2 separate regions of the Homo sapiens genome follow, and region 1 is linked to region 2. The links are contacts of gene promoters, found by promoter capture Hi-C in human tissues and cell types (Jung and others, 2019). All regions are on one chromosome and are shown on one strand. Each heading gives the region's core, a stretch centred on a gene start or on the middle of the fragment in contact. The rest is flanking DNA. Distances are from core to core; before and after follow the strand shown.

The links. Contacts are between HindIII fragments. The study calls those that stand out against the background at their distance.
Region 1: a contact is called between a fragment that was not itself captured here and the fragment with the promoter of DLEC1 in region 2, in 1 of the 25 tissues and cell types used here (lymphoblastoid cells).

Annotation. Positions count from the first base shown.
Region 1 is chr3:38,477,289-38,481,066 of GRCh38, reverse strand. ACVR2B (activin A receptor type 2B) reads right to left here. Exons shown (of 11, transcript NM_001106.4): 2 at 3,573-3,778; 3 at 3,097-3,206; 4 at 2,775-2,926; 5 at 2,549-2,692; 6 at 1,796-1,939; 7 at 1,241-1,389. Among named protein-coding and RNA genes, the nearest start is that of EXOG, 17 kb to the left of the region's middle. The HindIII fragment of the contact is 5,726 bases long and covers 1-3,778 here.
Region 2 is chr3:38,037,478-38,041,147 of GRCh38, reverse strand. DLEC1 (DLEC1 cilia and flagella associated protein) reads right to left here and starts at 1,940. Exons shown (of 37, transcript NM_007335.4): 1 at 1,512-1,940. The coding sequence starts at 1,922. RefSeq lists enhancers at 1,146-1,375, 1,666-1,875. The HindIII fragment of the contact is 10,609 bases long and covers 1-3,428 here.

The DNA.
Region 1 (3,778 bases), core at 481-2,980, 440 kb before region 2:
GCCAGCCCATATATTCTCAGAGGGGTTGTGGACAGGCACACTGGCCTGGGATGCAAGTTTTCTGAGAAGAATTTACAGCATTTGGAATGTGAATGAGAATAGGAATTTAATATTAGCTTTCCTAGGATCCTGCAGAGACCCCTTAGGGTCTCAAGCTCACCATGAAGGCCGGCTGGAGCAAGGGTGCTATTGCATGCACCCAGCTCCACCTCTAACTAAGCAAAGCTACTTGTGGTACTCAGTTTCCCCAGTGCCTGTCTCAGCCTTGTGAGGATTCGACTGAGTGGTAAGTGCAAATGTTTAGGGCCACACCTGGCATACTTACTAGGTATTCCTATTAAGTTGAGCCATATAGCAGAGACAACATTCAACCTTTTGACCTATAAAAACGGCAATTTCATACAGTCTACCTTCTATGTCATTACTGTTATTACCATCAGGGACCCTTCAGCTTTGAACGCTGGAATTTGAGGTTCATTCCCCTCCCTCACAGTCACAGAACCAGACTCAACTAGCTACAAGACCTTGGCTAAGTCATTCAACTTCTCTGTACTACTGTTCCTCCATCTGCAAGACAGAGCTGAGAAATACAGTACTTGTCTCAATGGGCGGTAATGAAGGTCAAATGAATTGATACTTCTCAAGTGTTTAGAGCACTGCCTGCCATTTAGTAAGCATGACAGTGATGAGCTCATCCAGAGTTTCTTAAAGGGTGGTTCGAGGACCCCAGAAGATCTCTAAGACTGTTCCAAGGGAATCTATAAAGTCAAAATTATTTTCATTTATTTGCTTTTATAAGGCTCATTCTCTTAGGAGCATAGAGTTTTCCCGAGGCTACATGAGATGTGATGTCCTCACTCTGACAGCGAATGGGATGTGTGGGTGTGCTCAAATACAGCAAATATCAATAGTCATAATCCACTTACACAAAAGTCATTTTAAGAGTATAAAGGGATCCTAAACTAGAAAATTTGAGAACTACTGAGCCAACTCTCCAACCAAAGTAATGGAGTCAGCACTTCATGTGGCCATTAGAGGGCACCAAAAACCAGCTTGGGAGGCCATGCCATCCCCAGGACACAGTGGGAAGGCCAGGTTTTGTGCCCAGCTGCCTCGGACACACAGCAAGCAGGGTAAGTATGTTTAGGAAGTTGAGACATCTCCAGACACTGCTCTCGCCCACCAACCCTTCCCACAGCTCCAGGTCAAGTGCAGGAAAGGCACCTGCTGACCCAGGTACCTGTGGGCAATAGACGGCTTGTGGCCCTCGCCACGGCACCAGGGCACATCCTCATGCAGGTATGAGAGGCCTCGTGACATCGTCTCTGCTACATGACACAGTTCGTTCCATGTGATGATGTTCCCCTTGAGGTAATCCGTGAGGGAGCCCTGAGAGAAGACAGCACAGAACTTGAGCACAGATTCTGGGTACAGGACAGGACCCAGCCCAGCCCTGGCAGAGAAGTCTCAGTGGGCCAATGGCTAGGCTGCTCTCCTGGAAGGCTACTACAATCGATATGGAAGATGGATGAGGCCAGGAGGCAGGGAGGGCTAGGGGTGGGAATCATGGAGTCACTACTCTTATCATAAAAACTTATCCCAGGGTGAGAGGTTCCTATCATAGGGGAACCAATGTCCACACCTATGGCAGGAGTAACCCCATAGTGGATAGTGCTACCGGGGCAGAGTACTTCATGGTGGACACCTCCACAGGGAAGGGGTCATCATATTATGGAGAGCCACCAAGGGGACATTCCATCTCCTCTCAGAGTCCATTCTGATGGGTGTGGCTCACCTTGTCATGGAAGGCCGTGATGAGCCACAGCTCTACTTCGAGGTTGGAGCCTCGCTTCTCGGCAGCAATGAACTGTAGCAGGTTCTCGTGCTTCATGCCAGGTGTGCTGAAGATCTCCCGTTCACTCTGCCACGACTGCTTGTCCTGAGGCCGGGGGCGAGGGGTTGGGGGGACAAGTGGCTGGCTTAGCCCTGCTGCAGTCACATTGCCCTACAGCAGAACAACCATTCCCCATTCCCCACCCTCAAGCCTCCCAGCCCAATCCCCACCCCCCAGCCTCCCAGCTTCAGCATTTGTAAGGGGACCAGGAGAAGACCTGTATTAAGCTAGGCCCCAGAGCATGAGGCCAACAGTGATCCCTGAGATCACTTAAGGCTAGCACTTCGATTTACAAATGGGGCCACTAAGGTCCATGCATGGGGTGTGAGTGACCCCGTATCACCCAACAAATGAGGCAGAGCCAGACCTGGTGTCCAGGGCCGCTGGAAAGAACCCAATGTCAAAAACAAAACCCTGGTAACCGGGGCAAATCAAGGTTTTGCAAAGCCCTACCCTAGTCCTATGATAAAATTCCATAGTTGCATGAAATCTACAGACCAGCCAAGTGTAACATGAGTAACTAGGCCCAGTAAGGCTCACTTTTCTCTCATACCACAATATTATTTGGGGTTTGGATTGCCCCAGGTCAGGAGAGCCTCCAGTTCAAGCTACAGTGGAGGCAGAGGACCTGGATGGAGCCCCTCAAACACTCACCTGGAGTGGGAAGATCTTGACAGCTACAAAGTCATTCATGAGCTGGGCCTTCCAGACACAGCCAAAGCGCCCCCGAGCCTTGATCTCCAGCAGCTGCAGTGGCTTCAGGCCCACCAGAGGGGATGGTGGTGGAGGCCCAGGGTCCTGGGGGAGAGCAAGGCTTAAAAAGGTCTGGCCTGTCCTCCCCACCTCTATCCTGCCCTGCCCCAAGCCAGCACTGTCTCACCTCATGGATGTCCACATGACCGTAGGGGGGCTTGCGATGCCGGTACATCCAAAAGGCCAGCAGGACGATGAGGGAAAGGCCCCCGATGGGCAGCAGTGAGTAGGCCAGCACCGTGAGCAGGGTGGGGGCTGTCGGGGGTGGCTCGTACGTGACTGGGGGACACACAGAGCCCTGTGTCAAACAGTCTGCCCACCCTCACACTTCCAGAGCCAGACTACAGGGCCCTGTAGCCACACCCCACCCAACTGAGGAGCCAAGCGCTCCAAGCCAAAGAAGCCCAGGTCGGCTGACTCAAGGCCCCACTTCCACACTGCCCCCTTACCTTCCGGGCCCCCAGCCTCTGGCAAATGAGTGAAGCGTTCGTTGCAGAAGTTGCCTTCACAGCAGCAGAAGTACACCTGGGGGTTCTCCTCAGTGGCCACACACTCCTGCCTGGAGGCACAGAATTTTCCATATACCCCTCACCTGGGGGATGCAAGACTCCCCCAGGCCTGCCCTGCCAACCCCTCCTCACAGACAGAGCACCTCATGGGCAACACCAGGGGGACGGTGTGAACTCACCTCCCCTACAGGAGACCCAAAGCCAAGGAAGAACAGCCAGGGGTTGACACTGAGACCCCTCCTCAGGGCTAAGGTAGGACAAATAGGGTGTGGAAGGGCGTGGGGCCATGGCTACCATCTCAAGAGCCCCTTCTTGGTCCTTTATCTCCCACTCAGACATCCTGAGACCCAAATGGCCCAGTGGGCAGTATAAGCGCAGGTGGGTCCAAGAGGAAAGGAGGGCAAGTCTTGGGGTACCTATCGTAGCAGTTGAAGTCATCTAGCCAGCAGCCCTTCTTCACGAGCTCGATGGTGCCAGAGCTGTTGCGCCAGGAGGCGTAGCAGTGCAGCCGCTTGTCCTGCTCGCCTTCGCAGCGCTCCAGGCCGCTCTGGTTGGTGCGCTCCAGCTCCCAGTTGGCGTTGTAGTAGATGCACTCCCGTGTCTCAGCCTCCCCACGCCCAGA
Region 2 (3,670 bases), core at 691-3,190:
CGCCAGCTACTCAGAAGGCTGAGGCAGGAGAATGGCATGAATGTGGGAGGTGGAGCTTGCAGTGAGCTGAGATTGCGCCATGCACTCCAGCCTGGGTGACAGAGTGAGACTCCATCTCAAATAAATAAATAAATAAATAAATAAGCTGGGCATACTGGTGCACACCTGTGGTCCTAGCTACTCCAGATGCTGAGGAGGGAGGATCAGTTGAGCCCCTGATGTTAAGGCTGCAGTGAGCTGTGATCACATCACTGCACTCCAGCCTGGGCAACAGAGCCAGACTCTGTCAAAAAAAAAAATTTGTAATATGTATTACTTTTTTTCTTCAAAAAAAGGGATCACTATTTGCCAATTCAGACTCTGGTATAGTGGCTACTTATGGGACAGATACTGAGAAGATAGAATCCAGTGAACTGGGTGACTGGTCATGGGGTTTATAGGTTTATAATGCTCCATATATTCTGGCTCATGTGAATGACAGGGATGTGAGTCTGAAGTTCAAGGGCAAGGTCTGGCTGGGTAGGCTGAAGTCTTAGCAGAGTGAATGTGGTGACCCACGAATCACAGAGTACAGGATCCCAGCCAGGGGCTCTGGCTGCACTTTAAGAAGCCTATAACCCGTGGAGGCGGCGAGACTGGTCCTGTAAGTATCTCACATACTGTATAGGTATTCATTTTGTTAATGTCTATCTACCTCAGTTAGGTTGAAAGCTACAGAGGACAGGTTGCGTGTGTGAGTGTGGGTGTGCCCGAACACTGGCGTTTTTATTCACTGCTGAATCCCCACTGCCTAGAACAGAGTATGACACCCAGCAGACATTCAACAAATGTGTTAAGTGAAGGAATGACTGAAGCTAACGACGTGGGATGCATGTCACTTAAGGGGCAGGTAGAGGACAGAACAGAAAGGAGAAGAAGAAGATCTGAGAGGCAGGAAGCACACCGGGGTAAAGGATCGGGTATGGGAGGAGTGCCCACAAGTTTAAGGGAGTCTTCAGTAGTGTGGCCAGCAGAGGCCGACTCAGCACAGAGGCCGCGAGTCAGCTGGTTTTCTCCTTGTACAGATGAGGAAGCAGAGTTGCTGTTCTAGAGGCTAGACACGCTTCCTAAAATCTGCGCATGAATGGCCCAGTCAAGATTGTGGTTTGTGATACAAAGGCACCCCAAAGCCGGGTGACTTTTGGCTTTATCCTCTCCATGGAACAACTATTCAGCGGTCTGCCGCAGTCGTTCATTGATATATGCAATATATAACGTATGTGTCTAGAGAAATATAGACAGGTGCTACAGATATATGCCGCACGTTGTGTGGTATGTGTGGTATTTGCGCATGTGTGTGTATGGATAGAGCGTCCTTCCACTAGAATGTCGGGCCCACTTCGGCATGATGGGCTGTTTCTCAACTGCAGCCCCAGATCCTGGAACAGCGCCTGGCACCTGGCAGGTGCTGACGCGTGCCGAGCGCTGAGACCCCGGCACCGTCCGCAGACGCGACGCCACCGCCACGTTACCTGCTGCAGCTGGTCCACGAACTCCTCGTGGCGCTCATTCTCGCTGCCGCGGGCCTTGATCAAGCTTGCGCTCACTTCGTCGCCGATGACCTCGGCTGAGTACAAGTTGCGGAAGACGCCGGTGAGCAAGTGCGAGATATCTTGGGTGCGCAGCGAGGAGGGGCGCAGACGAAGCAGCTGAGGCTCGGGACGCTGCGCCAGCGCAAGCTGCGTGAGGCGGCGGGGCCGGGCTGCGAAGCTGTAGTGGAAGGCCTCAGAGTAGGCGAGGGAGGAATACAAGGAGGACTTCCAGGTGGGCTGGCTGGGGCTGCTGGACCCGGCTGGTGGCGAAGTTGGCGCCCACATTGTCCCCTGGCACTCGTTGGTCCGGGACGCTAAAGACCTCCGCGTTTTGGAGCTCCTGGTCTCCATGGCAACCGAGACGCCGCTAACTCCCTGCGGCACTTCGGCTTCCGGCCTCACCCCTTCCGCCTTGCCTTTCTCTCGGATCCCGTCATCGCTGTGGTCATTGTAAACATTTGTGTCTTCAGCATTGTCCTTTTAAAAGTGAGCTTACTAAGTGTGAGGACCCATGAAGAAAGGTTTAATTGACACAGCCAGGCCTATCTGCAAAACCTTGTACCTAACTACCTACCTTCATCCATTCTTTAATTTGTTAAGCAACTGTTCATTCACTCATCATATTTATTGTGTAAAGATTGTGTTTCAGGTCTGTGCTGATTGCTGAAGATACCAAAGAAGTATGATGCTGCTTCTGCCTTCAGGAAGTGCACAGTCGTGTATGTGTGTGTTTGTGATGATGGCGGTGGGTGTGGAGGTAAAAGTAAAACAACTGTACTTTAGTGGGTTAAGGCCAAGGTGGAGATAAATATTGGTTGTCATGGAACTACAAAGGAGGACAGGAACTTAGTCTGTAGAAGGAGCGATTACTTCTTGGAACAAATGAAAACCAAGCAGAGATTTCAAAGAAGGAGTAGACTGAACATCATTAGTCATCAAAGAAGTGGAAATTAAAACCACAATGCAGTACTACAGTTAGTAGAATGACAAAAAACAAAAAAGTACCTAAATAAGAGCGTGTGTGTGGTGGCTCACACCTGTAATCCCAACACTTTGGGAGGCTGAGGCACGAGGATCACTTGAAGCCAGGAGTTTGAGACCAGCCTGGGCAACATAGGGAGACCCCATCTTTACAAAATATTTAAAAATGTGGGAAGGACGGAATGAAATTCAGGAGGAGTGGAACTTAAAGAGTGTGAGGGTGGAGGAATGACACTGATAGGTTAGGGCCAGATCATAAGTGGGTTGGTAGGCCACAATAGGGAATTTGGACTTTATTTTGAGGGCAGTAGGAGGTTCATCAAGGGTCTTAAGCTGGGGCATGTCATGGTCAGCTCTGTTTTACTAAGATCATTCTGATTGCTATGAGAATAGACAGGAGAGGCAAGAGGCATCAGGAAGTTCAGTTAGGAAACTAGCACAGAAGTTAGGAAAGAGATGAAGGGAGATTGGATGAGAGAGAGGGAACTGGATTGGAGATAGATCCAAAAAGTAGAATTGATAAGACTTGCTGGTGGATAATGGGAGGTAAGAAACAGGCACCAAGAATGACTCCCAGGTATCCTGTGTGTGCAATCAGGGGGGTGATGACAGCATCACTGAGATGGAAAAGAGGACTGCATTTGTCCAGGGCAGCAGCATAACATCACATTGACTGTTGTCATTTGCACACCATGGCTTTTGCTCACAGGTGATACAACCAACCACTTTCTACTCCACACTGAGTTTGCTTGCCTTACATCCTGAAACCCACTTCCAGAGATGAGTGCTAGCATGCTTGCCCACACACCTGGGCTACTTCCACTTCTACTTCTCTTGGTTGGGCCTGGCTCTCTCTTTTGTCCTTTCCAGGACCTTTTCTGTCCTGAGAGCTGAGAAGCCAGGGCCGCCTGCCCTGGACTGTGTGCTTGAGAGGCCCATCTCTGGCTGTCCCCCGCACTCTTTCCCACAGAGTAAGAGATCACAGGGCCAAGATGATGTGCCCCGTGCCTCGCCTCCAGGCACATGGGACCCCAAAAGTATGTGCCCACATGTCCTGAGTTCATTCCAGGGCCTATGCAGGCCTCTTCTTTAAGTTTATCCTCCCAGGGCTGACTTAA